Regions from separate parts of the Homo sapiens genome. Here regions 1, 2, 3, 4, 6 and 7 are each linked to region 5. Evidence: promoter capture Hi-C in 16 types of primary human blood cells and fetal thymus (Javierre and others, 2016). All regions are on one chromosome and are shown on one strand. The core of a region is centred on a gene start or on the middle of the fragment in contact, and the rest is flanking DNA. Distances in the headings are between cores, read along the strand shown.

What was found. The method cuts DNA at HindIII sites, captures the fragments that hold promoters and counts their contacts. A CHiCAGO score of 5 or more calls a contact.
Region 1: a contact is called between a fragment that was not itself captured here and the fragment with the promoter of LPIN3 in region 5, in 1 of 17 cell types (naive CD4 T cells). The highest score is 5.1, in naive CD4 T cells.
Region 2: a contact is called between a fragment that was not itself captured here and the fragment with the promoter of LPIN3 in region 5, in 1 of 17 cell types (naive CD4 T cells). The highest score is 5.3, in naive CD4 T cells.
Region 3: a fragment that was not itself captured here is called in contact with the fragment with the promoter of LPIN3 in region 5 in 11 of 17 cell types (total CD4 T cells, naive CD8 T cells, total CD8 T cells and 8 more); the score reaches 13.6 in total CD4 T cells.
Region 4: a fragment that was not itself captured here is called in contact with the fragment with the promoter of LPIN3 in region 5 in 1 of 17 cell types (activated CD4 T cells); the score reaches 5.6 in activated CD4 T cells.
Region 6: a contact is called between a fragment that was not itself captured here and the fragment with the promoter of LPIN3 in region 5, in 3 of 17 cell types (naive CD4 T cells, activated CD4 T cells and total CD4 T cells). The highest score is 6.9, in naive CD4 T cells.
Region 7: a fragment that was not itself captured here is called in contact with the fragment with the promoter of LPIN3 in region 5 in 3 of 17 cell types (naive CD8 T cells, naive CD4 T cells and non-activated CD4 T cells); the score reaches 7.3 in naive CD8 T cells.

What each region holds. Positions count from the first base shown.
Region 1 is chr20:41,059,959-41,063,517 of GRCh38, forward strand. It overlaps TOP1 (DNA topoisomerase I), which reads left to right. Exons shown (of 21, transcript NM_003286.4): 3 at 1,436-1,532. Among named protein-coding and RNA genes, the nearest start is that of TOP1, 33 kb to the left of the region's middle. The HindIII fragment of the contact is 554 bases long and covers 1,292-1,845 here.
Region 2 is chr20:40,937,195-40,940,833 of GRCh38, forward strand. No RefSeq gene overlaps it. Among named protein-coding and RNA genes, the nearest start is that of TOP1, 90 kb to the right of the region's middle. The HindIII fragment of the contact is 4,726 bases long and covers 1-3,614 here.
Region 3 is chr20:40,978,904-40,982,525 of GRCh38, forward strand. It overlaps LOC100128988 (a long non-coding RNA gene), which reads left to right and starts at 1,810. Exons shown (of 3, transcript NR_145525.1): 1 at 1,810-2,018. The HindIII fragment of the contact is 1,567 bases long and covers 690-2,256 here.
Region 4 is chr20:40,996,319-40,999,899 of GRCh38, forward strand. All of the region lies in intron 1 of LOC100128988 (a long non-coding RNA gene), which reads left to right. The region is part of intron 1 of LOC105372621 (a long non-coding RNA gene); the gene reads right to left. Among named protein-coding and RNA genes, the nearest start is that of TOP1, 31 kb to the right of the region's middle. RefSeq lists an enhancer at 693-1,267. The HindIII fragment of the contact is 2,534 bases long and covers 1,007-3,540 here.
Region 5 is chr20:41,338,804-41,342,373 of GRCh38, forward strand. LPIN3 (lipin 3) reads left to right here and starts at 2,018. Exons shown (of 20, transcript NM_022896.3): 1 at 2,018-2,199. RefSeq lists an enhancer at 1,630-1,679 and a silencer at 1,840-1,999. The HindIII fragment of the contact is 12,951 bases long and covers 1-3,570 here.
Region 6 is chr20:41,077,017-41,080,406 of GRCh38, forward strand. It overlaps TOP1 (DNA topoisomerase I), which reads left to right. Exons shown (of 21, transcript NM_003286.4): 5 at 566-621; 6 at 3,069-3,164. Among named protein-coding and RNA genes, the nearest start is that of TOP1, 50 kb to the left of the region's middle. The HindIII fragment of the contact is 9,236 bases long and covers 1-3,390 here.
Region 7 is chr20:41,013,579-41,016,832 of GRCh38, forward strand. All of the region lies in intron 2 of LOC100128988 (a long non-coding RNA gene), which reads left to right. Among named protein-coding and RNA genes, the nearest start is that of TOP1, 14 kb to the right of the region's middle. The HindIII fragment of the contact is 6,484 bases long and covers 1-3,254 here.

The sequences.
Region 1 (3,559 bases), core at 319-2,818, 280 kb before region 5:
ATGTGAATTGAAACCACAGTGAGGTACCACTCCACACGTGCTAGAATGGCTAAAATTAAAGACTGATAGCAGATATTGGTGAAAATTTGTAGCAATTGGAATGCTAATGAATTTTTGATGGAGATATACAATGGTACAATTTGGCAATTTCCTGTAAAGTTAAACATACATTTTTTATATTACCCAGTAACTTTTCTCCTAAGTATGTACCCAAGAGAAATGAAAACATGTCTATAGAAATATTTGTATATGAATGTTTGTAGCAGATAAATAATAACCAATGCCTGGAAACAACTAAATTGTCCAGCAGGTGAATGGGTAAGTTACAGTATATCCACACAATGTAACACCACTCAGCAATAAAATGGAACCAACAACTGATATATCCAACAATGTGGATGAATGTCACAAATGTTATGCTGAGAGAAAGACATCAGACACAAAAAGAATAAATCCTATATGATGTTATTTACATGAAATCTAGAAATCTAGACAAATCTAATATACAGCACGATCAGATCAGTGCTTCCTTTGGGCAAGGGGTGGAAGATGGGGAATGACTGGGAAGGAGCACGAGGGAAACTTTCTGAGATGATGGACTTGTTCTAAATCTTTATTGTAGTGGGGATTGCACCTGTGGGTGTCTTTGAAATGTTTATTATTACAGTTATTTCTTAATATTTGTAGGGGATTGGTTCCAGGACCACCCCACCCCCTGTCCCTAGTATACCAAAATTTGCAGATGTTCAAGTTTTTTTGTATATAAAATGGCACAGTATTTGCATATAACCTACACAATCCTTATATATACTTTAACTCACCACCACATTACTTAGATTACCTAATACAGTGTAACTATATAAATAGTTGTTATATTGTGGGGGGATTTGTATTTTTTTGGTTGTATTGTTATTACTATTTTTATTTTTCCTTGAATATTTTCAGTCTGCAAATGGTTGAATCTATGGTGCTGAACCTGTAGATATGGAGGGCTGATTGTATTTTATTGTTTAGACATTACACCTTATTAACATTCATTTAAAAACATCTGTTGAGGTTTGGATTTTTCAGAAGTTATAACATCTGATCTTTAGAGTCAGTGTTCAATACTATCCCTTTGTTATCATTTATAGGTCAGGCTTAATAGTATTATGTCTAGGGAGAAAAACGCCAAACTGTGGCTTCTTTCCACAGAATAATTGGCTCTCATTTCCTTATCCTCCCCATATTAGTAACTTGTCTTGATTGTAGAAGCAGGCTAATGGGAGCTTTGTCTGGGCTTCTTTGTGAAAGCTTTTTTTTTCAGTGGCATGTGCTATTATGCCTACCATGCCATTTGAATCCTGTCATTGTACTTCTTGACCAGCTTGTCAAGGTAGGCATACAGAAGATAGCTCATGACTCCTGTTAACTGACTCATCTCTTATGGTTGCAGATTCTCATAAACACAAAGATAAACACAAAGATCGAGAACACCGGCACAAAGAACACAAGAAGGAGAAGGACCGGGAAAAGTCCAAGCATAGCAACAGGTAAGGGTGGAATCAAGCAAGTCCCTCATCATTCAGCAGTGGGTTGGCCATTGCTTGGCTTACCTGGAATAGGTCTTAACTTGAGCTACATGTAAAGATAGCAAAGTAAGTAGAAACTGTATTTGATCCTAGAGTTGCTATGAGGATGGCCATGATTTAGGCCTTAAATGGGATGCCATTGTTCAGATCAAGATGTATAAAGCAAGTATGTTTAATTTTCTTTTAATATATACCTCATTAAAAATACAGTTGTTCACTAAGATAGGTAAGGATTCATTGTGACACATGATGGCATTTAATCAAGTCTGTAGCAAGCTTGCCTTGATAAAAGGTAACTGGATTGGAGACCTGATTTTTTTTCTTCTTTCTATATTTTAAAGAGTTTACATTAAAAATTCTTAACTTGGGCTTCCATGGTCTGTTAGCCCCTGAAATTATATGCAAATGGTTGAGTATATGAGATTTCCTGGAGAGACTATTTGTAGCTTTCATCATGTTATCAGAGGAGTTCGGCTCCCACAAAAGCCTACAATCACCAATATGAATGAAACTCAATAGTGCTGCCTTTTGGGATGCAAGCCTCAAGAAGATGTTTCTTTTGTTCATTTTGCTCCCATTTTTTTGGTGTAGGAGGCAAGTGGTTAAATCTAGTTATTGAAAATGAGGACTTGTACTTCCATTCTGATTTAAAGACAGTTGTTGGTGAGAAAGCCATATGGTATTCCCATTCCCATAGTGGCCTGAGCTAGGTTAGGGAATGTAAAGATCTGTCACACATTAGAACAAGTGTCTCCATTGTAGAGTTCTTAGAACTTCTTTATTAACTTGTCTGATTGTCTGTAGACAAGTTAAAGTGAGAATTGCTTTCTAAGTCTGTTCTTTTTCGCGAATCATTAAAATAACCAGATTTAATTTTCTCTATTGGGGACATTTCTTTGGGAATCATGTATCATGCCTGTGGCCTTTTTTCCCTATCCCTCACTTATCTCTTATCACTTGATCATCTAGTTTCCATTTTCATTATTCTGGTAAATTTAATCTCAGTAGTTGAATCTACTCTACATCTTTTCTAGTTTATAGTTGTCTAGCTTATGTTAATATCTACCGTACAGCAAAGAATATTGCCAAGGATAAAGAAGTTCATTGCATAATGATAAAAGGGACCCATTAGGAGAACATAGCAGTTATAAATGTTTATCCACTAACGTCACAGCCTCAAAATACATGAAGTAAATCTGATAGAGCTGCAAAGAGAAATAAACATTCATAATTATGGTCAGAGATTTTACTATCTTTCTCAATAATTTTTAGTCCAAATAGAAAATAATTAAGGATATGGAAGACTTGAACAGTATCAACCAACTTGATCTAATCGACATTTATAGGTTTTTCCCATCCAACAATATTAGAATTTTCTCTTTTCTTTCTGTCTACTTTTCCGCTTTTAATTTTTTTCAGGTTTTATTTTAGATTCAGTGGGTACATATAGGCAACTTTGTTACCTGGGTATATAGCTGTGATGCTGAGGTTTGGGTACAAATGATCCTGTCACCCAGGTACTGAGCATAGAACCCAACAATTAGTTTTTCAACCCTTACCGCCCTCTCTGCTCTAGTAGTCTCCAGTGTCTATTATTGCCATCTTTATGTCCATGAGCACCCGATGTTTAGCTCCTGCTTAAAAATGAGACCATGTGGTATTTGGTATTCTGTTCTTGCCTTAATTTGCTCAGGATAATAGCCTCCAGTTGCATCCATGTTGCTACAAAGGACATGATTCAGTTCTTTTTTTATGACCGTATAGTATTCCGTGGTAGATATGTACAACATTTTCTTTATCCAATCCATCATTGCTGGGTACCTAGGTTGATTCCATGTCTTCCCTATTGAGAACAGAGCTGCAGTGAACATGTGTGTACATGTGTCTTTTTAGTAAAATGATTTGTTTTCTTTTGGATACATACCAAGTAATGGGATTGCTGGATCAGAAGGTAGTTGTTTTTTTAAGTTCTTTGAGAAATCTCCAAA
Region 2 (3,639 bases), core at 2-2,501, 400 kb before region 5:
CAAAAATGCATACTGTATAATTTCATTTATATAAAATTCTAGAAAAAGCAAACTAATCTGTAGTGACAGAAAGCAGAGTGGTGGTTCACTAAGGATGAAATACACGGGAGAGGTGGGAGGGGCAGGAGGGAGAATATCAAAGGATCATAAGGAAACATTGGGAAGGGATGGATATGTTTATTTATTATCTTCTGTGTGGTGATGCTCTCCCAGGGGCATAGGCATGTGAAAACTTTTCCAGTTGTGCATTTCAAATACGTGTATTTTATTGTATGTCAATTGTACCTCCATAATGCTATAAAAAAATTAATAGGACTTGTTGATGAACTGGATATGGAGGTGAGAGGGGGAGAAATGTCAGGGATAACCTCCAGGCTTCTGGCTTGAGTCAACTGTTGGATGGAGGGGCAGTTTCCTGACGGGAATGTTCAAAAGAGGACACGGTTAGGGTGCCTTAGCACATGGCAGAGAGGTCAAGAACAGAGTTTTTGAGATGTGAAATTTGATGTCCCATTGAAAATGTACAGAATGTGGTTGTGAATCTGAGCCTGTGGCTGAAAAGAGAGATCATGGTTCAAGAAAAGGAAGAAGGGGCCAGGCACAGTGGCTCACATCTGTAATCCCAACACTTTGGGAAGCCGAGGCGGTCAGATTGATTGAGGTCAGGAGTTTGAGACCAGCCTGGCCAACATGGTAAAACTCTGTCTCTACTAAAAAATACAAAAAATAAAAATTAGCCGGGTGTGGTGGCGCTTGCCTGTAGTGCCAGCTACTCGGGAGGCTGAGGCGGGAGAATTACTTGAACCTGGGAGGCGGAGTTTGCAGTGAGCCAAGACAGCACCACTACACTCCAGCCTGGGCAACAGAACAAAACTTCATCTCAAAAATAAAGGGGGCGAGGCGGGGAGAGGGAACTCATGCAGGGAAAACCGTGAGCCAAGACATGGAGGATGGGAACAAGGGGGAGGAACAGAAAGGGAGTCCTTCACTGGGGTGGGGTTAGGGCAAGAAGCAGTGAGCAGAGAGGGAGCCCCCAGGTGGCTGTGTTGGGACCTGCTGGATTCACAGGGCAGGGAGGATGACAAGCTCTGGGAGTCCTAGAAAGGGATTTGATTTGAGGTGTTGGGACAGGAGAAATGAAGCCATCAGCTTTAGAGCTGCCACATCCCGTTGGGACATTCCACAGGGAGCTGGATCCTGGGATCTGGATGACCAAGGAGAGATGTGGTGCAGAGAGGGATCTAGGGCTTCCCTGGCAAGAGTATGTTGGCCCAGGAGGAGTGGGGGTGGTGGAAGAGAAAGATAGAGATGCAGGAGCTCTCAGAGAAGCCCCAGGAGAGTACGTGAGAATGGAGACGGCATCAGGCTAGGGGCAAAGTAGGGTGACAGCCAGACCCACGAAGTCCCCAGAGGTCTTACAGGAACATCTCAGGGCAAGGACCCAGAGCAGTGTGTGCCAAGGGCTGGTCACCAGAGCTGAAAAGGGAGATAGCCTTGGAAGGAGGGAGATGTGCTGGTCCCTACAAGGCTCTGGCATATACATCTCCTCACTGAGTGCTCACAACTCCTTTATGAGATCACCGTAATCATCTGCATTGCACAGACAAGAAAACTGAGAATCAGAGAGGTTAGGAGACTTCTCCCAAGGCCACGAACCTTGTATCTCATCCACATCTGGGGGCTCACACGCTCTTTTTAGGCACTAGGGTGCCCAGAAAAAGGTTCACAGGGGCCACCAAGCACCAACTAATGACCCCCAGGGTGGCTGTGCACAAGCATGTCTGAGGCAGTTAGATGAAGGAGGGAGCGCAGCTAATTGCCCGTACAAATTAACTCTAATGTGGTCGGCATCGACATACTTATCTTTCTTTAATTACATTAATCAATTAATGAAGAAGATGGCTTCCTCTTATTATGATTTCCAAGGCCCATATGTTCTCGGGAGTCCAGCTGGAGTTGGGCTTCTTCTCTGTCCCTGGCTTGAATGGAGAACTGAGTGACATCAATAAGAGAAATTGTCCCCCAGGCCTTCTCCACCCTGAAGCTGATCTTCAAGATGGGAGAGGTAAGAAAACAGAAGCAATGATCCCCGGAAATGGTAACCAATGGGAGAGGCCTAAACTCCTTGACTCAGCATTCAAGGCCCTTCTCCAACATTGTTCATGGTTCCTTTGACCCAGGTTTATCAGCCTGGGCAGACTGATTTTCTCTGAGCTGCCCTTGCATCCTCCAGCGTCCAATGCATTCATGCCATTTCCTCTACCAGGAAGGCCAGCTCCCATCAGTCAGGGTCCAGGTCAGTCCAGTGGGTTTGTCACCTCCTCATGAGAACCCTATAGAAGGCCTACCCTGCAGTAATCTCCTTCACTTGTTAATTTTTTTCAGCTTTATTTAGGTATAATTGACAAATTAAAATTGCATACTTTTAAGATATATAACTGGATGTTTGATATACATACACATTATGAAATGATTACCACAATCAAGCTAAGTACCATACCCATCACCTCACTTGGTTACCATTTTCTTTTCTTTTTTTTCCTCTGTGTATGTGTGTGTGGTGAGAACACTTAACATCTACCCTCCCAGCAAGTTTCAAATATGCAATATAGCATTGGTCACTATAGTCGCCCGGCTCTACATTAACTCTCCAGAACTTGTTCATCTGGCATAACTGAGACTTGGTACCCCTTAACCAACATCTACCCCCAGCCCCGGGCAGCCACCATTCTACTCCCTCCTTCTATGTGTTCGGCTGTTTTAGATTCCACATGTTAGCGAAATCTTACAGTGTTTGTCTTTCTGTGTCTGACATTTCACTTAGCATAATGCCTTCCAGGTTCATTCATGTTGTTGGGAATGACAAGATTTTCTTCTTTTATAAGTTTGAATAATAATTCACATTTATTATTCACATTTTCTTTATCCATTTATCTATTGACAGACATTTAGGTTGTTTTCATATCTTAACTACTGTGAATATTGGTACAGCCATAATGGAAGACAGTATGGAGGGTCCTCAAAACATTAAAAATAGAGCTACCATATGATCCAGCAATCCCACTTATGGGTGTATAAGGAAATAAAATCAGTATTGCAAAGAAATATCCTCACTCCCATGCATTCATTTTTCATTCAACAAATATTTACAGTCCCTCCCCTTGTGTAACTTCTAAACCTTCGGGACAGACAGACACTAAACAGACAAATAATTACATAGACTGGTGGTTCTCGTCCACTAGAATCATCAGGGGAGCTTTTAAAAATATGCTGCTCACGTGGGCCCAGTGGCTCACACCTGTCATCCCAGCACTTTGGGAGGCCAAGGCAGGTGGATCACTTGAGGCCAGGAGTTCAAAACCAGCCTGGCCAACGTGGCAAAATCCCATCTCTACTAAAAATACAAAAATTAGCCAGGCGTGGTGGTGCAAGCCTGTAGTCCCAGCTACTCGGAGGCTTGAACCCAGGAGGCAGAGGTTGCAGTGAGCCGAGATCACACCACTGCACTCCAGCCTGGGTGGCAGAGCGAGGCTCTTTCTCAAAACACACACACACACACACACACACACACACAGAGACACACAGACACACACACACACAAAGTGTGATGCTTAAGCTTCATCCCAGAAAAACTAAAGC
Region 3 (3,622 bases), core at 223-2,722, 360 kb before region 5:
ATGGTCTTGATGCTTGTGGATGTTTGTCAGTGACTGTGCATTTAACAGTTAGGTATCTGTTGTACTCTTCACAGTCTGGGTTTGTTTGTACTTGCCTTTCTTGTGGACAGGTACAAACAAGCCCAGACTGTGAAGGACAAGTATTGTGGAAGGACAAGGCTTTCCACGTATTCAAAGGGACTTGGGTGTTGTGATCTAAGTGTTTGGTCACTGCAAATGCATCTGCATTAAGGGACACCCCAAGCCCAGTAATGCTGTGGTTCTTGCAGAGTTGCAGAGGTACCACTTTGGTAGCCTTGGATAAGATCCAGAAGAATTCTCTGGATTACTAGAGATTCTTGTTCTCTTCCCTTACTTTCTTCCAAACAAATGGAGACTTTCTCTCTCTCTCTCTCTCTCTGTGCTGTGCTGCCTAGAGCTGGGGGAGAAGTGACACAAGCACACCTGTGGTCACCATCACTGGGACTGCGCTGGGTCAGACCTGAAGCCAGTGCAGCATTAGGTCTTGCCCAAGGCCTGCTGTAACTGCCACCTGGCTACTGCCTATGTTTGCTCAAGGCCCTAGGGTTCTACAATCAGGAGGTGGCAAAGCCAGCCAGGCTTATGTCCGTCCCTTCAAGGCACCCAGTTCCCCCAGGCCCCAAGCAGGTGCAGAGATACTGTCTGGGAGCCAGAGACTGGAGTCAAAAAGCTTAGAAATCTACCTGCTGTTCTATTCTACTGCAGCTGAGCTGGCACTCAAACCACGAGACATAATCCTTCCCACACTTCCCTCCCACTTCCATAAGCAGAGGGGCCTCAACCTGTGGCCATCACCACGACAGGCCCATAGGACTACTGCCAGTCTACCACCAACGTTCACTGAAGACCCAAGGGCTCTTCAGTCGGCTTGTAGTGAATGTTGCCAGGCCTGGGACTCATCCTTCAGGGCAGTGGGTTTCCTTCCCACCCAGAGCAGGTCCAGAAATGGCATCTAAAAGGCAAGGCCTGAAACCAGGGACCCCAAGAACCCTCTTTATGGTCTAGTCTACTGTGGCTGAGCTAGTATCTAAGGTATAAGACAAAGTCCCCTTTACTTTTTCCTCTGCTTTACTCAAGCAAGTGTTCTCACTATGGTTCTCACCATAGCCACCACAGCTGGAAATGTGCTGGGTCTCACCTGAAGCCAACATGTCTCAGAGTCTCAACCAAGGCCTATGGTAGATACCAGGGTATCGCTGCTGGTTCTTCAAGGTCCCAGGACTCTTTAATCAGCAGGTAATGAATCCTGCCAGGACTGAGTCCTTCCCTTCAAAGCAGTAGGCTCCCTCCTAGCCTAGGGTGTGTCTAGAAATATCATCCAGGAGCTAGGCCCTGGAATGGGGACCTTATGACCCTAACTGGTACCCTATCCTACTGTGGCTGAGCTGGCATCCAAGATGCAAGACAAAGTCCTCTTTACTCTTCCCTCTCCTCTCCTCAAGTGGAAGGAGCTTGCACAGCTGCAAGCTGTGCTACCTGGAGTTGGGGGGAGGGTGGTGCAAGTACTCCCTTAGCTGCCTCAGCTAGTGTCTCAGTAGGTCATGTGCCCCCACCATGTCCACTGACTCTGAGCCCAGCTCAGCACTAGGACTTGCCTAGGAACTGCAGTCCTTGTGACCTTGACTGCCATTCAAGTTTATTTACAACCCAGAGCATTTTACCCCCATGGTGGTAAGGCTTGCTGAAACTCAAGTTCCATCCACTGGGTTGGGCAATTCCCTTGGGCAATTACCCTCTGGCTAGGGCTGGTCTAAATACTCTCTCCATCATCAGCTGTCAGCTGAGTTCAGTTCGGTTTTGCTTTCACTGTGACAAAGCAGCATCAAATTCAATGCAATGTCTCACAATAGCTGCGCTCTCCCTCTTCCAAGCACAGAGATTCTCTCTCTACGCCACAAAGCCACTGCCATGGGATGGGGACAGGTGGCATCAGCAACTCAAGACTGTCTTCCCTACCCTCTTCATTGCCTCTTTCAACAGTATGAAGTTAAAATCAGGTACTGTGAGTGCTCATCCAATTGTTGGTTCTTATGATGAAGGTGCTTTTTTGTGTGTAGATAGTTGTTAAATTTTATGTTCCTGTGGGGGATGGGGAGATGGAGCCTTCTATTCAGCCATCTTGCTCCACCTCCTACAACGGCAGTCCCCAACCCCCTGGCCATGGACTGGTACTGGTCTGTGGCCTGTTAGGAACCACGCTGCACAGCAGGAGGTGAGCAGCAGACAAGCAAGTGAAGCTTCATCTGTATTTACAGCCACTACCCATTTCTCATTACCGCCTGAGCTGCACCTCCCATCATATCAGTGGCAGCATTAGATTCTTATGGGAGTGCGAACCTTATTGTGAACCGTGCATGCAAGGGATATAGTTGCGGGCTCCTTGTGAGAATCTAATGCCTGATGATCTATCACTGTCTCCCATCATCCCCAGATGGGACCATCTAGTTGCGGGAAAACAAGCTAGGGCTCCCACTGATTCTACATTATGAAGAATTGTATAATTATTTCATTATCTATTACAATGTAATAATAATAGAAATAAAGTGTATAATAAGTGCAATGTGCTTGAATCATCCCAAAACCATCCCTTACCCCAATCTGTGGAAAACTGTCTTCCACAAAACCGGTCCTTGATGCCAAAAAGCTTGGGGACCACTGCCCTACAAGACCACTTTTAAAATAGGAATAATGGGAAGACCATATTCAAAAAAAAAAAAACTTTTTAAACTGTTTCCAGTAATTATTTTGTTGATGCTATTACTGCTGTCATTTTGAGACCATTGCGTGTGTAATGTGGGATAAGGAAAATAAGCAATTACAGACTGTTTTAATTCTATCATCTCCTGTATTATTGAGGATCTGATTCTCAATATGGAAGAAAGGAGAGATGTAATATAGAAAAGATTAAGTGAAAAACCTAAGTGTGAATTGGAATTATTAGTATGAACACAGGGTGCTATCCTCCTGGTTTCTGGCTGAAAGGTGTGTGTGTGATAAAATATATTTCCTAATGACCAAATCAGTAGCCATCTGCATCCCTAGCATCCAGACAGTGGTCATGAAACCCTATTTTCCATTTAAAAATAAAACGGGGCCCGGCACAGTGGCTCACGCCTGTAATCCCAACACTTTAGGAGGCCAAGGTGGGTGGATTGCTTGAGCCCAGGAGTTCAAGACCAGCCTGGGCAACATGGAGAAACCCCTTCTCTACAGAAAATACAAAAATTAGCTGGGCATATTGGTGCATGCCTGTAGTCCCAGCTACTCAGGAGGCTGAGGTGGGAAGATCAACTGAGCCCAGGAGGTCAAGGCTGCAGTGAGCCGTAATGGCACCACTGCACTCCAGCTTGGGTGACAGAGTGAGACCTCATCTCAAAAAATATATAAAAATAAAAGGACTTGTAGTCAGTTAATATTTATTCAGTATTTCAATCTTGTAAATATAAATATTTACAAGTAGGTTTCACTGTCCTCTCCTGATGGATGACAAAGGGAAAACACAGAGAAGAAAGCAGTTTTCTCAGGGCCACACAGCTGCTAAACTGCCCAGCTGGGCTTGAAACCCAAGTGAGGTTCATCTGTTCATTCAACAAATAGTTGC
Region 4 (3,581 bases), core at 1,024-3,523, 340 kb before region 5:
AAATTATATACTTTAAGAATGAGCAGTTTATGTTATGTAATTTCTTTTTCAATAAAGCACCTAAGAAAGCAAGAAAGAAAAGGGAGGGAGGGAGGGAAGGAAGGAAGGGAGAGAAAGGAAAGAAAGCAAGAAAGAAAGAAAGAGAGAGAAGGAAGGAAAGAAAGGAAAGGAAAGGAAGAAAAAGAGAGGAAGAAAAAAGAAAAAAGAAAGAGGAGGGAGAGAGGGAGGGAAAAGGAAAACTTCACTGGATTCCCTTTGAGCATGTTAGGACACCAACTCATTATTTTGAAAATAGGTAAATAAAGGGAAAGAATCAAGCACCTTTTCTACTTTTTCTGTATGAACCGTATCTCCTTGTAACCAAATAATTGGTGAGAGAAAATTTCTCCTTACAGAATTATTTCAGCTAAGTAATGAGGAAAAAATCTAAAGAATTTGAATTTTGCATTTTGTACTTTACACACTTTAAGGAAACAATGGATCTAGGCCATGATCGTCAATGCCTAGGAATCGCACAGAATGAGACAAATATACTCAATGTGCCTCCTGGTATAGGTACACAATATTACCTATGAAGCATTCTTGCTAAAAACACTTAACCTGACTTTATTAAGATACTAGTCACATGAACTAGAAGTCAGAGGAATGTGTTAGATCAGCGGTCCCCAACCTTTTTGGCACTAGGGACCATGCCGTAGAAGACAATTTTTGGGCTAGAAGACAGTTTTTCCACAGACAAGGGAGGGAGTCAGGATGAAACATAGAAGACGATTTTTCATAGACTATTTTTTCCACAGACAAGGGAAGGGGTCAGGATGAAATTGTTCTAACTCAGATCATCAGGCATTACTTAGACTCTCATAAGAAGCATGCAACCTAGATCACTCACATGCGCAGTTCACAAGAGTTCGCACTCCTATGAGAATCAAATGCTGCTGCTGATCAGACAGGAAGCAGAGCTCAGGTGGTAATTCGAGCGATGGGGAGCAGCTGTAAATACAAATGAAGCTTCGCTCAGTGGCCCACCACTCACCTCCTGCTGTGTGGCCTGTTAGGAATCAGGCCGAGGACCAGTACAAAGGATTGGGGACTCATGTGTTAGATGACACCACAGGGATGCAATCCACAAACCAGAAGATAGAAGACTCTACAAGATAAATGCCATATATATATATATATATATATATATTTTTTTTTTTTTTTTTTTTTTTTTTTTGAGACAGGGTCTCACTCTGTGGCCTAGGCTGGAGTGCAGTGGTGCAATCTCCGCTCACTACAACCTCCACCTCCCAGGTTCAAGTGATTCTCCTGCCTCAGCCTCCCAAGTAGCTAGGACTACAGGCATGTGCCACCACACCTGGCTAATTTTGTTGTTGCTTTTGTTTGTTGTTTGGGGGGGGGGGTGTTGGTTGTGGTGGTGTTTTTATTTGTTTGTTTGTTTTTTGGTAGCAACGGGTTTTCACCATGTTGACCAGTCTGGTCTTGAACTCCTGACCTCAAGTGATCCACCAGCCTCAGCCTCCTAAAATGCTGAGATTACAAGCATGAGCCACCCTGCCCAGCCTCTTATTTCTTCAATAAACGAACTGAAGACAGAGCAAGGGAAAATCTCTCCAATCCTGCTTATTCCACCTTCCACACTTAAAAAAGAGAGAAAGGGAGAGCCTAAAGGGTAAAAGAGACTTAATTATTACCAATCAGTGGATTGTGTGGACCTTGTTTGGATCTTGTTTCAAATAAACACATTACATGCAACAATTGGGTATACACACACACACACACACACATAGACATATATATATATATATATATATTTTTTTTTTTTTTTTGAGACAGAGTGTAGTTCTGTTGCCCAGGCTGGAGTGCAGTGGCACCATCTCGGCTCACTGCAACCTCTGCCTCCCGTGTAGCTGAGACCACGGGTGCATGCCGCCATGCCCGGCTAATTTCTGTATTTTTAGTAGAGACAGGGTTTCGCCATATTGGCCAGACTGGTCTTGAACTTCCGACCTTAAGTGATCCTCCCGTCTCGGCTTCCCAAAGTGCTGGGATTACAGGCATGAGCCACCGTGCCTGGCCAATTCAGTATATTTAAACATGGACTGGATATTGGATTATATTAAGAATTGTTGTTGGTTTTTTTTGGTGTAATAATAATAATTGTGGCTACATGTTTAAAGTTCCTTTTTTAGAGCGACATGGAGAAATGTTTACTGATGAAATGATATGATGTTTGAGATCTGCACAGAAATTATTCCATAAAGGAGAGAGTAGATGGGCATATAATTAAAGAAGTTTATCTGGCCGGGCGCGGTGGCTTACACCTGTAATCCCAGCACTTTGGGAGGCCGAGGCAGGTGGATCATGAGGTCATGAGATCGAGACCATCCTGGCTAACATGGTGAAACCCCGTCTCTACTAAAAATACAAAAAAAAAAAAAATTAGCTGGGCATGGTGGGGGGGCGCCTGTAGTCCCAGCTACTCAGGAGACTGAGGCAGGAGAATGGCATGAACCCGGGAGGCGGAGTTTGCAGTGAGCTGAGATCGCACCACTGCACTCCAGCCTGGGCGACAGAGCAAGACTCCGTCTCAAAAAAAAAGTTTACCCATAAGTTGATCACTTTAAGTTGGGTGATGAGTATGTAAGGGTTCATTACATTATTCTCTTTACTTTTGTAAATGCTTAAAATTTCCCATACTAAAGAGGAGAAAAAGCTAATATTTGCTTATTTTCATACTTTCTGCACTTCTGCTATAAAAACCACCTCCAAGGCCAAAGGAACCAGAGAAATGTGATAAGATAAAAGGCATTATACAAAAAAAGAAATACATTGGCTAGTACTTCAAACTACTTAGAAACAGATGTATAGACCAATGAAACAGAATAGAGAGAACAGAAATAAATCCCTACAACTACAGCCAACTCATTTTTCAACAAAGGTGCAAACAACACACATCGGGGGAAAGGACAGTGTCATCAATACATGGTGCCAGGAAAATTGGGTATTTATATGCAAAAAAATTAAACTAGACCCCTACCTTTCACCATATACAAAAATCAACTCAAAATGGATTAAACACTTAGATCTAAGATCCAAAACTATGAAACTCTACTAGAAGAAAACATGGGGACACATTTTTTGACATTGTTTTGGACAAGGGTTTTTTAGATAAGCCCTCAAAAGCACAGGCATAGGCTGGGTGCAGTGGCTCATGCCTGTAATCCCAGAACTTTGGGAGGCCAAGGTGGGCGGATCACGTGAGGTCCGGAGTTCGAGACCAGCCTGGCCAACATGGCGAAAACCTGTCTTTGCTAAAAATACAAAAACTAGCTGGTGGTAGTGACATACACTTGTAGTCCCAGCTACTCTCAGAAGGTTGAGGCAGGAAAATCGCTCGAACTCGGAAGGTGGCGGTTGCAGTGAGCTGAGAGCACACCACTGCACTCCAGCCTGGACGACAGAACAAGACTCTGTCTCAAAAATAAAGTACAGGCATCAAAAGCAAACATAGACAAATGGAATTACATCAAACTGAAAAGCTTCTGCACAAAAAAACAACGCATGAAGAGATAACACAC
Region 5 (3,570 bases), core at 768-3,267:
AGTGAAACCCTGTCTCTACTAAAAATACAAAAAATTAGCTGGGCATGGGGATGGGCCCCTGTAGTCCCAGCTACTCAGGAGGCTGAGGCAGGAGAATGGCGTGAACCCGGAAAGTGGAGCTTGCAGTGAGCAGAGATGGTGCCACTGCACTCCAGCCTGAGTGACAGAGCGAGACTTCATCTCAAAACAAAAACAAAAACAAAAAAACAGAGATGGGGTTTCACCGTGTTGGCCAGGCTGGTCTCCAACTCCTGACCTCAGACGATCCGCCCACCTCTGCCTCCCAAAGTGCTGGGATTGCAGGCGTAAGCCACCTCACCCCAGCCGCAAATGCAATTTCTGCAACAACCTTTATATCAACTTTTTTTCCTCTAACAATGAACAATGAAAACAATTTGTGCTCCATCTTTAAAAATGTGTGACACAAAAATTTTTTAAATAAAAATAAATATGTGATAAACATTCCTGAATGCCTAGTGTGTGCCCTGGCGCTGTGCTCTGCATTTAATTTGGATCAGCAGTTCTCAGCCTTGTTTGTACATTACAACCAACTGGAGAGGTTTTTAAACTCCCAGTATCCGGGGCATCAGTATTCGTCTAGGGCACAGTGATTCTAACACACAGTCAAGGTTGAGAACCACTTATTTAATTCATCCTGTAAATCCTCACAATAGAATCCTGCAAGGTAGCTTTTATCACCACCTTTGCCGATGAAATTGAGGCTCAAAGAGGTAAATTGATTTCGGCATCTGTAGCCCCAACCTGTGACCTCTCCTTCCTTCCTTCTCGGGCTCCCTTCAGGGATTTCCTGATGTTACAGAAAATGGTATGTATGACGCTGCCCTCCTGGCCACCTTGACATAGCTCTGCTCCCAACAGGGCTCTTCTGAGATAGCAGCCAGACACTACCTGGGATCAGGACTGATACTAAATGACTTCTGCCAAAATGAGGACAACTGAGGCCAGTCACTTCCAAACAGGTTCTGTCACCCTGAGTCAGAATAATGGCAGCTACCTCTCCTCCTCACCGCCCAGTCGTTTCTAAGCCTGGCTCGTCGCCGTTGCTGCTCCGCCAAGCCTTTCCTCGGTGCCCTCTCTCTTTTAGAACAAATTACTTCATCTCCAGGCCCTTCTCAGGGCAGCTTCTTTGCAGGGGCCATAGGGCGTCGGAAAGGTCTTTGGTCCAGGAAAGCCGCGAGCCACAGATCCAAGAGGAAAAAGCCGTTCCCGGCCCGGGCCTTGCCCAAGGCACGAGAGTAAATGCACCTTCCGCGTGCCTCGGCGCACCTGGGCTCACCTGTCCCCTCCCGCAGTGCCTGCAGACAGGGAGGGAGCGCGGCTGGGCCAGAAGGCTGATCACCGCCTGCCCCCTGCTGGCCAGTGTCAGTATTGAGCCCGCTGCCGCTCGACCAGAACGTCCCAGGGATGGAATGAAGGTGCGGGCATTTATGGAGCGCCTGCTGTTTGTCAGGCGAGGTACTGATAAGCGCTGGAGTGTAAGGATGTACGTGACCTGCTCTCAGAGTTCAAATTTAAATGAAGAGATATACATTAATCAAGTAGTCATTCAAGCAAATATGAAATTACAACTGTGGGCTATGCGAACAGATGACGCGAGGGGCCTGTCCAGTCTGGGAGATACGGGTGGGTTCAGGAAAAGCTGCCCCCAGGAGGGGACGTTTGAGCGCCAGGAGCCGCGCAAAGTCATTTCATGTCATCTCTAAAATCCTGCAAGGCGGCTTTCCCCCTTGACAAAACAGGAAATGGGATCAAATTGAGGAAGGAATTCACCCAAGATCACACAGCAAGCTGGAAGCAAATCTGGGAGGAGCTAGGTCCGCCCCGTTCCGAAATCCACACTTTTCTGGAGGTGGGGCAGGCGGTGGCACAGGGACTTGGGGCGGGGTCTGGTGGGCGGGGCATGAAGTCTGGCCCCGCCCCCGCCTCCGAGGCCAAAGGGCGCCCTGGGCGGGGATCGGAGCAGGGGCGGGGTCTTTCCAGGGAGTGGAGCCTGGGCAGATTGGGGCCTGTGGAGGCCGCACTAGGATCGTAGAAGGAGTGGAGCCGTGCTCTCACCCTGTCTTAGAGGACCCGGAAGCGCCAAGTGACTGAGGGCCGAAGACACTCACCTGTGGAGCCTGTGCACGTAGGTAGAGGCGGCGGCTCTGAGTCCAGGAGCTCCAGTGGGCAGCTCCCCAGGTAGGGCCCAACTCGGGGGGAGAAGAGATGACCCTCTCCCCTCCCGCCCTGCCCATCTGTCCTGCCATCCTACATTCCTTCCTTCCTGTCCGCGGGCCTGGGTCCACCCCTAGCTGTAAGATGGGGACGCAGGGGTGGAGGGACTGGCCTCATTTTGTCCCTTTTTCCCTGGCCCAGCGGCTGCAGGCCCCCTGGACACCCAGAACGTAGAGTCTGGAGAGGAGACGTCGAAACCTCCCAGGGGAGGCTGGCCCAGCTTTACCCCAGCCTGACTGTGTGACCTTGAGGAGGACAGCCACTTTCTCTGGTACCCAGTGTCCTCAGTTGCAAAACAGTGACTGGCCCTTGCCCTGCTTGCCCTGAGACTGGGCAGATCAGATGCTGTAGCTGCTGGGGGCTGGGGTGGCGCTTTCTCTCTACTGGGGCACTAGGAGTGCTTACTCTCCTGCTCCCTCTGGTCCTCGGTGGAGAGCCACACCCTTCATCCACCCAAACCTGGGAGCCCCGAGGGCTGAGAGCCTAGTCCTAGGGCAGCTTGCTCTGGCTTCCCTGTGCTAGAGTTGTAGTCTAGCCTGGAAGGCCTGTGAACATCCCCAAGGTGGGGTGTGAGGCCTACGTGGAGTGCACATGCTCGTTTTGCAAATAGTGGTGCCACCATTGTGCATGGCCTTGAGTGCCAAGTTAAGAAGTCCAAACTCCGCTGGGCGCGGTGGCTCACGCCTGTAATCCCAGCACTTTGGAGACTGAGGCGGGTGGATCATGAGGTCAGGAGATCGAGACCATCCTAACACGGTGAAACCCCGTCTCCACTAAAAATACAAAAAATTAGCCGGGTGTGGTGGCACACGCCTGTAGTCCCAGCTACTCGGGAGGCTGAGGCAGGAGAATTGCTTGAACCCAGCAGGCGGAGCTTGCAGTGAGCCAAAATCATGCCACCGCACTCCAGTCTGGGTGACAGGGCAAGACTCCATCTCAAAAAAATAAATAAATAAAAGAAGTCCAAACTCTCAACTGCTGGCAGGGGCAGTTCATCAGAGTATGACCTGCAGTGCCCACAGGACCAGCCTGCATGAGTGGGGCTGTCATGATGCTGCTGCTGATAGGTGTACATACAGGTTTTTATTGCATTCCAGGGCTTTACACAAAGTCATTAGTTACTCACACGTGCCTGATGTTATTCCCATTTTGGAGGCTGAGACTGAGGGTCAGAGAGATGAAGTCACTTGCCCATGGTCACAGCTAGCAAATGGCGGAGTGGGGATCAGCACCCAGATAATCTGGTGCCTTTTCTCCTAATGTCCTGTGGCCACCCGTGATCTGGGCATCTGGTTATAAAGTCTTAACCTAGGACAGCTGGAGAAAGGAGGGGCT
Region 6 (3,390 bases), core at 482-2,981, 260 kb before region 5:
AAAGGGGAGGGGGTCATGAGTATACTTTGCCTAAGTAATAGAAGACAGGGCATAGACTACTTTTTTGTTTGTTTGTTTTTTAAATAAAGATGGGGGTCTCACTGTGTTGGCGGGGCTAGTCTCGAACTCCTGGCCTCAAGCAGTCCTCCAACCTCATCTTCCCAAAGTGTTGGGATTACAGGCATGAGCCATCACATCTGGCCCAGTTTATATGTTTTGTTTGTTTGGTTTTTGCTTTTGTTTCCTCTCTGCACTGCCAATGGCAAATTCTTGAGTAGTGGAATGTATTTATTGGGGAAAAGAGACCTGCCACCACTTAAAAGTAAAAAGCTGCCATTTTTAAGGGAAACCTTTCTCAGTGAGTTGGACAGTTTCACCCAGAAGAATTGTTAAAAACGAGTTTTGGACACATTTCAGGACCTTTAGTTCATCTGTTCAGTTTTGGTAACATAAGAGCCAGCTTGTGATCATGATGTCCCAGGAACTGATGCTACATATTCTCAAAAAGAGGTTTCTTCAAATTTAGTCCTTTCAAGGTACTAGTTACTGTTGTTTTACTTTTCAGGTTCGAGCCTCTGGGGATGCAAAAATAAAGAAGGAGAAGGAAAATGGCTTCTCTAGGTAAGACTTTGCTGCTGCGTGGGCTTCCCTTTCTCTGGGTGGACAGCAGGCCAGCTGCCTGTGTTGTAGTGTTGTCTGAGTTAACCCAAAACCCACTGACCTGGCCATCTTGATGGTTCCCAGAAGCTCAGCAGTGAGAAGACTCGGTCTAAGCCAACCTGAGCCTTTCTACAGTGCCATATAGTGAGACTGACCAGCACATTTTCCAGAAGGTTATTTCGAATAGAGAAGGTTGACAGGAGAGATTTTTAAAAATTGAGATTTGACTTGCATATCACAAAATTTGTATTTTAATGGTATACAGTGTACCATTTTTTTTTTTTTTTTTTTTTTAGTATATTCACAAGGTATTGCAGCCTCTTCACTAATTCCAGAACATTTTCATTTCTCTAAAAAGAAACTTCATATTCAGTAGCGATTATGGAGTTTTCTGAAAAATCACTTAGTCTGATTTCATCATTAGTAATATTGGGAGGCTTATATATAAAAGATCATTTGACCTACATGTTAGGGATGAGTGTAGATTTGGGTAGAATTATGTTATCTCTTTTCTAGAAGGAGAGGAAAATGCGCAAAATCTAGAGGTTACTTCCTATACTGTTTTTACCTTTATAATTTTGTTTTCCTCAGCCTCAATTTCCTAAAATAAGCCCAGAGGTCCCCTCTAGTTTCGAAACAACTAGATGTTTATTGTTACATATTCTCACTTCACTGAATGACAGAAAGGATTTATTAGAAATGGTTGTAAGTGTTTGCATTATTGACTGGGACAAAACACTTTGAGAGTTTTGCTTCCTTGAATCTTTGAACTTTCAGTTTCATTTGTTAAAATTTTTGACAATTGTGCCTGGTACTCTGGGGTCCTTTAGACAAGGAGAAAAGCAGGTGCCCTCTTCAGGCATGTTTCATAATTGTTCTAGGAATGCAGAATAATACAATTCAGGAAGCATTAGAGCTGCAAGCTGCCCTAGGAATTTTGATTTCTGAGATAAAGTGACTGAGGAGGCACTGCTGGGCTAATCTCTGCCAAGAGACTGCCTTGGATTTTTATTAAACTGATATGAATAAATTTTTTGGACTTGGTGCATAGTCATGAATTCATTTTCAGACTTTTTGGGTTAGAAGATTAGGAACACAGCCTTCTTTGAGGCAGTGGTCTCTATGTTCACTTTGCTGGACTCCTTGCTGGCTTGTGTATATGTCTTTGTAGAGAATCCAGATGCTTCACTGGAATACAGTTTTCAGGTAAATTGTTTTAGGACTTCTTCCTTCAGACCTAAGTAACCCTTCCCACAGTTTTTGTCTTCAGTGTGACAAACTTAGGATCTAGCATTTACTTAACTAGTTGGGTAAATGATAGGCTTTCTTTCCTTCTGGACCCTAGGGTCTGTGTCAGTATTCAGGCAGGAGGGGGAACAGCTGTAGAAGCTGGCATTTGGTTAGGGTGCTAAAATAAGTTCTTTAAACATTCAAATTCTATCACAAGCAAGGGGACCCAGTATGCTTTTTTTGGTCGGAGGTACTCTTGAAACCCTGTGAATATACTTTGCAGTGGGGTCGGGATTCTTAATCCTTGGATCCCTCCACAGGGGGCAGCTGCATGTAAGGAGGCCATTTCTTGTACTAAGTTAAGGCAGTGAGGTTCTGAAGAGATGTGCCAGGCCAGGGAGCATCCCATGGCTGCAGTGATTGCTGGGCTCTATGGTGTTTTTTACTTGTTCCTTCTCTGTTTTGGTTCAAGATGTTTGTCTCAAAGGATTGTCTTTTTATATTTATATTTTGAAGGTAAGATCTTAACAAATAGTAGTGAGACACTCTTCTGTATATAAAGTAAACCTAAGTTAGGACGTTGAACAATGAATAGATTTGGCATAGGATACCTTCTGTTTATTCTGGTTTAACACGTGCCCTACTTTTGTTGTAATGTTGTCAGCTTGGTTATTTTTCCATGTAGCTAGATATACATGTACGTTATTGCCACATTTTTAGAACTTTAAGGTACTAAGTTGGGGAAATCAATGTTTATTCCTTTCCTTGTAAAAGCTGTACTTTAGCTTTTAGAGTACTGGAACAATCAGTTCAGATTGTGGGGTCAAATATATGGTAGGTTTCCATGTAAGGCAAGAAAACACCTTAGGTTTATTTCTGGAGTGGTTCGTGCCATGCTGGCAAAGATAGCTAAGAAATAGTGAGAAAGAATTCTGACTTAGAATAAAGAGTCTTGATCCCAAATCCTGATATTGCCCATTCACCTGTACAATGAGGACAAATACTATCTACTTCACAGGATTGAAGTGAGAAAAAGTGCTCACAGAACATCTTCATGATATGTACGTGGTTATCCTTATTTCTGTTAGCTTCTTTTCAACGAAATGACATATTCCTTCTTTGTATTAATAGAATACAGATGTTCTAGCACTCTGACCAGCAATTTTTTTTCTCTTTAGTCCACCACAAATTAAAGATGAACCTGAAGATGATGGCTATTTTGTTCCTCCTAAAGAGGATATAAAGCCATTAAAGAGACCTCGAGATGAGGATGAGTGAGTATTTTCTTAAAACTTTGACTTTTGAAAACAAAAAGGAGGAGTTTAAAGAATAAATGTGATGTGTTTCTTTATAATACATATAGAAACTGCATTAATTGGCTTTTACTCATTTGGAATTTGTGATTAATGGACTGATTTCTCTGAACTATGAGAAGTAGAGTTTGCTAAACAAGTAGTATACCCAAGGCTTACATGAAGATTATATAAATTTTTATTACTG
Region 7 (3,254 bases), core at 664-3,163, 330 kb before region 5:
CTCAAAAATAAAATAAAATAAAATAAAATCTTACATCTAGTTGAGGAAATGGATAATGAGAGTGCAGTATGATAGGTGCTGAGACTGGGGCCATGCGCAAGTTGCTATAGGAACAGAGGAAAAGGGCACTCATACTTCCCCAAGCCTGTCTTCTTTTTATTTATTTATTTATTTATTTATTTATTTATCATTTGAGACAGAGTTTTGCTCTTTAGCCTAGGCTGGAGTGAATGGTGTGATCTGGGCTCACTGCAACCTCCACCTCCCAGGTTCAAGCCATTCTCCTGCCTCAGCCTCCCAAATAGCTGGGATTACAGGTGTGAACCACCACGTCCAGCTAATTTTTATATTTTTAATAGAGACGAGGTGTCGCCATGTTGGCCAGGCTGGTCTCAAACTCCTGATCTCAGGTGATCCACCCGCCTTGGCCTCCTAAAGTGCTAGGATTATAGGCGTGAGCTACCACACTCAGCCTTAAGCCTCAATCTTCTTATCTGCAAAGTGGGAATCATGGCCGGGTGCGGTGGCTCACACCTGTAATCCCAGCACTTTGGGAGGCCGAGGAGTGTGGATCACCTGAGGTCAGGAGTTCCAGAACAGCCTGGCCAACATGGAGAAATCCCATCTCTACTAAAAACACAAAAAAATTAGCTGGGCGTGTTGGCTCGCACCTGTGATCTCAGCTGCTCGGGAGGCTGGGGCAGGAGAATCACTTGAACCCAGGAAGCAGAGGTCACAGTGAGCCAAGATTGTGCCATTGCACTCCAGCCTGGGCAACAAGAACGAAACTCCATCTCAAAAAAAAAAAAATGGGAACCATGTTATTCACTATAAGGAGTTTTCTGGTACATTCCAGGCCTCTGCTTGACACATATTAGGAGCCCGTTGCAGCCCATAATTCATTTATTCAACAAATGTTAATTGAGTATCTTATGTGTGTCAGGCACTTCTGTGGATGGTAGAAATGTGGCACTAAATAAACTGAGAAAGCCGGGCACGGTGGCTCATGCCTGTAATCCTAGCACTTTGGGATATCAAAGCAGAACACCTTTAAGCTCAGGAGTTCGAGACCAATCTGGGCGACATAGGAAGACTCTGTGTCTACAAAATATAAACAATTAGCTGAGCATGTTGGTGCACACCTGTAGCCCCAGCTGCTCAGCAGGCTGAAGTGGGAAGATTGTTTGAGTCTAGGAGGTCAAGGCTGCAGTGAGTCATGGTTGTACTGCTGTACTCCAGCCTGGGTGACAAAATAATATTATTTTTGTCTCAAAAATAATAAATAAATAAATAAACTGATAAGAATTGCTGCTGTCATCAAGATTACATACTACACGGGGAAAACAATAAGTAAAATATTCCGTAGGCCAAATGGTGACAAGTGCATTGGAGACAAATAAAGCAGGGATGGAAAGAGGGAAGAACTGAGGGAAGGGGGTTGTAATTTTAAATAGAGTAGTCAGGGCCTGTCTTAGTTTAGCAAGGATCTGAAAGAAGAGAGGCACTAGGCCATGGAGATATCTGGAGGAAGGACGTTCGAGGTAGAAAGATCCACAAATGAAAGGGCTAATGCTGGAGAATGAGTGGTGTGTGATAGGCTTTTACAGAGCCCAGAGTGGCTGGAAAGAGGTGACCAAGGTGTACAGCACCAGCAGATGAGGTCAAGGGAGGCCTTGGAGGGGAGCAGGTGTGGCAGAGCCTTGGGGCCATTGTAAGTCTTTGACTTTACCCTGAATGAGATGGGAGCCACTGGAGAGTTTTGCGCAGAAGAGTGACAGGATCTTACGTTTTGTTTTGTTTTGTTTTGTTTTGTTTTGTTTTGTTTTGTTTTGTTTCAGGAAAGAGTCTCACTCTATTGACCAGGCTGGAGTGCAATGGTGCAATCTTGACTCACTGCAACCTCTGCCTCCTGAGTTTAAGCAATTCTCCTCCCTCAGCCTCCCAAGTAGCTGAGATTACAGACATGTGCCACCATGCCTGGCTAATTTTGTATTTTTAGTAGAGACGGGGTTTCACCATGTTGGTCAGGCTGGTCTCGAACTCCTGACCTCAGGTGATCCACCCGCCTCAGCCTCCCAAAGTGCTGGGATTACAGGCATGAGCCACCGCACCCGACCTTCTTCTTTCTTTCTTTCTTTTTTTTTTTTTTCTTGAGATGGAGTCTCACTCTGTGGCCCAGGCTGGAGTGCAGTGGTGCAATCTCTGCTCACTGCAGCCTCAGCCTCCTAGGTTTAAGCAATTCACCCTGCCTCAGCCTCCCAAATAGCTGGGACTACAGGCGCCCGCCACCACGCCTGGCTAAATTTTTTGTGTATTTAGTGGAGATGGGGTTTCACCATGTTGGCCAGGCTGGTCTCGAATTCCTGACCTCAGGTGACCTGCCCACCTCAGCCTCCCAAAGTGCTGGGATTACAGGTGTGAGCCACTGTGCCCAGCCCTTTTTCTTTTCTTTTCTTTTCTTTTCTTTTTTTTTAACTGACAAGGTCTCCTCTGTCACCCAGGCTGGAGTGCAGTGGTATGATCATAGCTCACTGCAGCCTCAAACTACTGGGCTTGAGATCCTTCTGCCTCAGCCTCCTGAATAACTGGGACTAGAAGCATGTGCCACCAGGCCCAGCTAAATTTTTAAAAATGTTCGTTGAAATAGTATCTCACTGTTGCCCAGGATGATCTTGAACTCCTGGCTCTAAGTCATCCTCCTACCTTGGCCTCTGAACGTGCTGAGATTACAGGCGTGAGCCACCATGCCTGGCCAGGATCTCAAGTCTTAAATAGGACCACTCTGTTTTAAAGGATCACTTGTTCTGACTATATACCATGAGATGACAAACATAGAGCAGAGGACACCAGTTAGGAGACTCCCACATTAAACCAGGTGGAGATGATGGCAATTTGGGCTAAAGTGAAAGCAAAGGGCATGGTGAGAAATGGTTAACATCAGGATATTTGAAGGTGAAGTCAACAGGATTTGTTGACAAATTGGATAAGGGGGAGTAGGCAGGCAAAACAGAGTCAAGGATGCGGGGCGTGGTGGCTCACGCCTGTAATCCCAGCACCTTGGGAGGCTGAGGTGGGCAGATCGACAGGTCAGGAGTTCGAGACAAGCCTGACCAATATGGTGAAACCCTGTCTCTACTAAAAATACAAAAATTAGCTGGGCATGGTGGTGTGCAACTGTAGTCCCAGCTACTCAGGAGGCTGAGACAGAAGAATTGCTTGAACCTGGGAGGCGGAGGTTGCAGTGAGCCGAGATG